Regions from separate parts of the Homo sapiens genome. Here region 1 is linked to region 2. The links are contacts of gene promoters, found by promoter capture Hi-C in blood cells and fetal thymus (Javierre and others, 2016). All regions are on one chromosome and are shown on one strand. The core of a region is centred on a gene start or on the middle of the fragment in contact, and the rest is flanking DNA. Distances in the headings are between cores, read along the strand shown. Region 1 overlaps CEP170 (centrosomal protein 170). Region 2 holds the start of AHCTF1 (AT-hook containing transcription factor 1).

Region 1 (3,414 bases), core at 108-2,607, 3.7 Mb after region 2:
CATGGAAAGCTGAGCAAAAGAGAAGGCGCCATCGAGGAGGATTGAAAAGTGGACAGTGGGGTGTGAGGAAACTGAAGAGTGTGTTGTCCCACAAGCCAAGTAAAGGAAGTATTTTTAGAGATAAGGAGTGATCAGTCCCCTGTATCACCTTTAATCACCTAAATACTTCATAAGAAATCAGGCAGTATCCTCTTTCTTTCTGAATGGTCTCTGAGAAAGCAATTTCCTTTTTTAAATCTGGTTTATCAACATGAATGTTCACAGTTATTCTCCCCTGGCAACTACTAAATCTAAAGCCCTGAACAAAGTTTTACTCATAAAGAGGCCAATGCTGTTTCCTACGTGGATGAGTATGGCAGCTGCTGCTGCCTCTGATGTTTGAACAGGAGAAGCGATGCTGTTTCATAGGAAGAATTTATCAGGAAGCTAGTGATAGTCCAGCTACCTCAGAGGTTTATTGTGGTAGCCAAACGAGGTAGATGTAAAAACCAAATGAAAGGTATAATTGCAGATAGGGGTCTCCTTCCCTTATTGCCCCAAGTGTGGTACCAACTTGATAGTGTTAGATTTGAAGAACTATGTTGGCAAATAAAAATATTTTTCATTTTGAGTCTGTAGGAATAGTTTTTTACTTCCTATGCACTCTATCCCGATAGGCAGTTTCGCACATCATTTTATAATATTCTTGAGGGTAGAGAAAAGGGCTAGAAAGAGGATAAGAACAACCAGGGCAGGCGCGGTGGCTCACGCCTGTAGTCCCAGCACTTTGGGAGGCCGAAGCGGGTGGATCACCTGAGGTCAGGAGTTCGAGACCAGCCTGGCCAACATGGTGAAACCCCGTCTCTACTAAAAATACAAAAATTAGTCAGGCGTGGTGGCGCAGGCCTGTAATCCCAGCTACTCAGGAGGCTGAGGAAGGAGAATTGCTTGAGCCCAGGAGATGGAGATTGCAGTGAGCCAAGATCACGTCACTGTACTCCAGCCTGGGCAACAGGGTGAGACTCCATCTCAAAAAAGAAAGAAAAGAACAACCAGGCTTTGAGATAATAGCTTTTTTTCCCAATCCTAAACTCATCCTTTAATTCTAAACAGTGTCTAAATAAAGAGAATTGAGGTAGAAAAGTAAGCAAGTTAAAAGGCTTCCTTACTTTTTTTTTCCCTAGGCCAGCCAGGAAGACTTTCTTCTTTTAACTGACTTTTTTCTGGAAAGTGTTCAACTGAGTAATGGTTTGTCACATGTTACATGGAATAGAAAAAGTGCAAATTCAAAGCTTAGGGACTGGTTAGGGGTTTTGAACTCTAGGCAGCCAGCTAGAAACTGATTTGAGGAAGCAGGAGGGTGGGGGAAATGAGTCTGCTTGATGATAATAGGGGTAAAGTGCAAAATACTTATTTTGGTGAAAAAGGAACATCGCAAATACAGGACTTTTTGTGGTAAGCTTTTTGAGGCAATAGGACTATAACTTCACAATACATAGGTATCTTGCAGACCTTATATAATATGATTTGCTATGGCTGGTCATTAAATACTTCTCCTTGGATAAAAAATGCATATAATGCATTGCAAATTGAAGGCCATTTTATTTTTTATATTACAAATCTAATCCTAATACATGGCAGAAAATTTAGAAAACAAGATTTTCTACCATTAAGTACTATCATAATCCCACTAGCCAGTAACCCTGTTATGTATTCTTGTCTATTCTGGTTTAATTTGGTAACATTTTATCATGAAGTTAAACTTTCTGGCTCTAACTTTTAATGTGGCATAGAATCTGTCTTCTCAAACATGTAATCTACTTACACACAATTTATGAAAATTAAATGTATTTTTAAAATTGTAAACAACAGGCCGGGCCCAGTGGCTCATGCCTGTAATCCCAGCACTTTGGGAGGCCGAAGCCAGCAGATCACTTGAGGTCAGGAGTTCAAGACCAGCCTGGCCAACATGGGGAAACCCTGTCTCTACTAAAAATACAAAAATTAGCTGAGCGTGGTGGTGCACACCTGTAATCCCAGCTACTCGGGAGGCTGAGGCAGGAGAATCGCTTTAATCCAGGAGGCAGATGTTGTAGTGAGCTGAGATTGCTCCACTGCACTCCAGCCTGGGTGGCAGAGCGAGACTCTGTCTCAAAAAAAAAAAAAAAAAAAAAAAGTAAACAACACTGTAATGGACATTTCTAACTCTGAATTTCTGTGCAAATCAATGTTTTTCTTTGATTTCAACAAATTATGCTTAAAATACAATGCAGATACAAATGCAGAATTCTACTAATTAAACCTTTTCTAACTTTTTAATAAAATTACCCCCTCCAGTTTATATCAGTTTATTCTTCTACCACTGGCATATGAAACTGTGTGTTTCTTCACCCCTTCATCAGTGCTGAATATTACGTATCTTTTTTAAAATTTGCTTTCTTTTTTCTTTTTTTTTTTGAGACGAGGTCCCGCTCTGTTACCCAGGCTAGAGTGGAGTGGTGTGTTCATGGCTTGCTGCAGCCTTTACCTCCTGGGCTCAAGGGATCCTCTCCGCTCAGTCTCCCAGGTAGCTGGGACTGTAGGCATGGGCTGCCATGCCCATCTAAGTTTTTTTGTTTTCTTTTCTTTTTTGTGTTTTTTTTGTTTTGTTTTTTGTTTTTTGTTTTTTGTTTGTTTGTTTTGTTTTCTTGAGATGGAGTCTTGCTCTGTCGCCCAGGCTGGATTGAAGTGGCGAGATCTCGGCTCACTGCAACCTCTGCCTCGCGGGTTCAAGCAATTCTTCTGCTTCAGCCTCCTGAGTAGCTGGAATTACAGGCACACACCACCACACCTGGCTAATTTTTGTATTTTTAGTAGAGACGGGGTTTCACCATGTTGGTCAGGCTGGTCTTGAACTCCTGACCTCGTGATCCGCTCACCTTGGCCTCCCAAAGTGCTGGGATTACAGGCGTGAGCCACCGCACTGGCCAAGGTTTTTTATTTTTTTATAGAGACAAGGTCTCATTTTGTTCCCTAGGCTGGTCTCAAACTCCTGGGCTCTAGCAGTTTTCCTGTCTCAGCATCCCAAAGTGGTGGGGTTACAGGCATGAGCCACCCAATCTGGACAGTTTTGCCACTTTGATGAACAACAACCAAAAAAAAAAACCTTATTTAAATTTCTTTTATCAATAACACTTGACATTTTTTTAAAATGTGCTTATTGGCCATTGTATTTCTGATCTGAGTTGCTTGTATGTGTGCCTTTTGCACACATACATTATATTCACTTGTTCATCATTATATTCACTTGTAGCAGATTCTAGGATCACCATACTTCTGTTGTATCACCCTGCTTCCCTCACTTATAACAACTTTTGGGTAACAGATACTGTAAAATTTTTTCCCAGATTGTCATTGCCTTTTAAATTTGTTATTTTTACCCAACAAAGATTTTAA
Region 2 (3,660 bases), core at 282-2,781:
AGCTTGGGTAACACAGTGAGACAGTCTCTACAAAAAATAAAAAATAAGGCCGGGCGCGGTGGCTCACGCCTATAATCCCAGCACTTTGGGAGGCTGAGGCAGGTGGATCACGAGGTCAAGAGTTCAAGACCATCCTGGCCAACATGGTGAAACCCTGTCTCTACTAAAAATACAAAAATCAGCTGGGCATGGTGGCGCACACCTGTAGTCCTAGCTACTCTGGAGGCTGAGACAGGAGAACCTCTTGAACCTGGGAGGCGGAGGTTGCAGTGAGCCGAGATTGTGCCACTGCACTCCAGCCTGGTGACAGAGCGAGACTCCGTCTCAAATAAATAAATAAATAAATAAATAAATAAAATAAAAAAATTAATGGGACGTAGTGGCGCATGGTGGTCCATGCCCATAGTCCCAGCTACTTGGAGGGCTGAGGTAGGAGGATCATTTGAGCCCACGAGTTCGAGGCTGCTGTGAGCCTTGATTACACCACTGCACTCCAGCCTGGGCGACAGAGCGAGACACTGTCTCAAAAATAAAAAAATTTAAAAAGCACATATGAAAGGTAACAGAAAAGTAGAAACTTTCCTGATAAAAGAGCATCTTCTTAAAATCCCTACTCTACCTCATGTTATAATCCTTTTACTTACTACTTAGTATTAAGGATACGTTCCCTATCTGTTTGAAACATGTTTGGCGCTGGGATTTGCTTCAAAGGAAGATACTAACAAGAAATAAGAAATTCCACAATGAAAACCCGCGGTGACCAAAAAGATAACAGTGATTTGGGGTAAAATTTTGACTAAAAAGATTAGGCTAGGCTGCGCGAGCATTTTTGGCCATGAAAGCACAGGAGGATGCTAGAAAAAACAGCACCGTGGAAAAAGCGTTTCCCCAGAAGTCTGGGAGCCCACCTTTGGCATGAAAAGCGGGAGCACAGGTTGTAGTGAGCCAAGATCGTGCCACAGCACTCCAGCCTGGGCAACAGAGCAAGACTCCGTCTCCAAAAAAAAGAAAAAGAAAAAAAGAAAAGTGGGAGCACAGAACAGAAAATACAGAATGCAAGCTGCCAATTATGGGAGAAAGATTATCACTCGGCCCCCAGCTGGCAGGGCCACACGATTACGTGACAAGAGAGTCCGCCTGCAATCGCAGCAGGCGGCTGGCAGAGCCCGGCGCGACCCCCAGCGAAGACTACCACTCCCAACTGCGCACGGGGCGCGCCGCCGGGGCCGCCAGGGCGGCTTCACGCGCAAGGCACTGTGGGACTCGTAGTCTTTCTCCCCACCAGCTCCTCGGAGGCGGAGAGACCCGATTTTTTTGTAAATGATCCGCCCTTCCAGGCCCTGCTTCTCTTTCCTCCCTTTCCCTCCCACCTCCTTCTTTCACCGAGAGTTTGAAAATTCCCGCGGAGCCGGCGCTAGAGCGCGGAACCATCGCGAGAACTCTGGTCCCTGCAGCCGCGATCTCCCGCCGGTTCTCCCCTCCCTCTCCGCCCTTTCCTCTGCTCCCTCCCTTCCGGGGCGTGTGGAACTCGGTTTTGTCGGCGCAGGGTAATGCGCAGAGCGGGGCCGGCGCTGTCCGAGGCGAGCAGGCAGCGTTGCAAGGGGAAGGACCCAGAAGCGCGGCGGGAGCAGCGACTGCGTTTTAGCCGCTGAGCGGTCTGCAGGCCTACAGCCCGCGAAGGCACTCTCGGGGGCGTGTGGCTCTGAGGTGGCCGGGGAGGTCGCAGGCGGCGGCCGGAGCGCAGAGGAGCGGCTTCAGCCGGGCGGAGGGGTGTGAGCCCGGCCCGTGGCGGCCACGTCTCCCGGGAGATGCTGTGACGGACCCGCACGGGAGGAGCTCGCGCCTGGCCTGGCGACCCGGTGGACTCGGCCCGCGGCGGCGCGCTCACCCGCCCCGTTCAGGTAGGGGGAAGGGAGGGAGGGGGTTGGGCCCGCGCGGCGGAGGGCGGGTCGCGCGGCCTGGACCCGCGGCGGCGGCGGCGGCGGCGGCGGCGGCGGCGGGGCTTCTGCCCCGCGAGCGCCGGGCCTAGGCCGGGCGTGCGCGGGGCCAACGGATGGGGCTCGAGGGGGCGAGCGGTGGCGGTGGCGGGTACGGCAGGCTCGCGGGCGCCGGGCTTCGTTACATAATCTCGGACCGGAGGAGCGGCGGCACATGGCGGCGGAGCGGCGCTGGTGGTTCGCGTCCTGCGCCGGCAGTCGGGTCCCTTTACGGACGGCCGGGGCCGCGACCCTTTCCCACTGTTCTCCCACGCGATGGACTCGTTGGCGGGCCTTTCCCCGAGGGAAGCGGCCGGCGTGCTGAGCCTGTCCTGTGTTGGCGTGTGTTCCACATGCGCTTGGGCCTGGCCACAGTGAGTAGTCCTGGCGGGGAAGAAGTTGGACTCGGGGCTCAGCCGTGAGGTTCCAGCTCACCCGATTGGTCAGATCAAGGAGATTTAAAATAAAAGCACATCTTGGGGTGCTTTGCCTTCCTTTTTCCTACCTGGGAAACAGGACGGTTTCTTTTGCCACTGGTTGACTGTTTTGGTTTGGGTGTTTTGTTTTGAGAGATGGGGAAATTTTGTTCTCAAAGCTTACGAGGTTCATACTATCTGTGTGCAAAGTTTTATGAGATGAGCGTTATTTTTATTTCCAAATCGTCAGTTGTAGAAATTTTTGGAAGAACTGGGTTCTTCATAGAACAAAACGTAAATCCTTTGGGGAAATCCTAAACGATATTTATTCTCAGAATATCCTAAAGAACCTGTAGATTTTAAGAACTGTCTTTGGCTGGGCGCAGTGGCTCCTGTCTGTAATCCCAGCACTTTGAGAGGCTGAGGCGGGAGGATCGCTTGAACCCAGGAGTTTGAGACCAGCCTGAGCAACATGGCGAGACCCCCCCTTTTTTTTTTTTAAACTGTTTTTTTGTGAGCTTTCACTGATAGAGTCTCTTAGGAGAGAAGAAATTAGAGTGGTTTACTTATTTCGGAGGATTTGACCTGGGATGACAAGCCCAGTTAAGGTTAATACTTGAAGGGATGTTTTAAGTGTGCCAAGCGCTATGGGAAGTCTACGTTGTCTCTGTACTGTGATTTTTGGATCCTGATCCTTCAGTAACATACTACCAAGCTGTCACGAGTTTGCAAACAACAATAATTATCTTGAAAAAATTTTTAAAACATCATGTCAACCGGGAATTGGTGGCGCCTCTAGTCGCGCGCCTACTTGGGAGGCTGAGGCGGGGGGAACGTTTGAGCTTCAGCCTCAAACTGAGAGTTCGAGGGTTGCAGTGAGCTAGGATCGCGCCGCTGCACTCAGCCTGTGTGACAGAGCGAGAACCTGTTGCTAAAATAAAATAAAAAAGATCGTTATACATCAGTTTTGAGACTTTTGTTTTCTTTTTATGCTTCTCCTTTTTCATAGGTACAGATACATCTTTTTTTTTTTTTGAGACGGGGTCTTGCTCTGTTGCCCAGGCTGGAGTGCAGTGGCACAATCTTGGCTCACTGCAACCTCCGTCTCCCAGGTTCAAGCGATTCTCCTGCCTCAGCCTCCTGAGTAGCTGGGATTACAGGCGCACGCCACCACACCCGGCTAATTTTTGTATTTTTAGTAGAGACGGGGTTTCACCATATTGGCCAGGCTGGTCTTGAACTTCTGACCTCGTGATCCGCCCGCCTTG

What was found. The method cuts DNA at HindIII sites, captures the fragments that hold promoters and counts their contacts. A CHiCAGO score of 5 or more calls a contact.
Region 1: a contact is called between a fragment that was not itself captured here and the fragment with the promoter of AHCTF1 in region 2, in 1 of 17 cell types (total CD4 T cells). The highest score is 6.9, in total CD4 T cells.

Annotation. Positions count from the first base shown.
Region 1 is chr1:243,244,968-243,248,381 of GRCh38, reverse strand. The region is part of intron 1 of CEP170 (centrosomal protein 170); the gene reads left to right. Among named protein-coding and RNA genes, the nearest start is that of CEP170, 8.6 kb to the left of the region's middle. The HindIII fragment of the contact is 168 bases long and covers 1,274-1,441 here.
Region 2 is chr1:246,929,819-246,933,478 of GRCh38, reverse strand. It overlaps AHCTF1 (AT-hook containing transcription factor 1), which reads left to right and starts at 1,531. Exons shown (of 36, transcript NM_001323342.2): 1 at 1,531-1,901. RefSeq lists enhancers at 1,149-1,198, 2,319-2,408 and a silencer at 1,879-1,978. The HindIII fragment of the contact is 4,479 bases long and covers 1-2,573 here.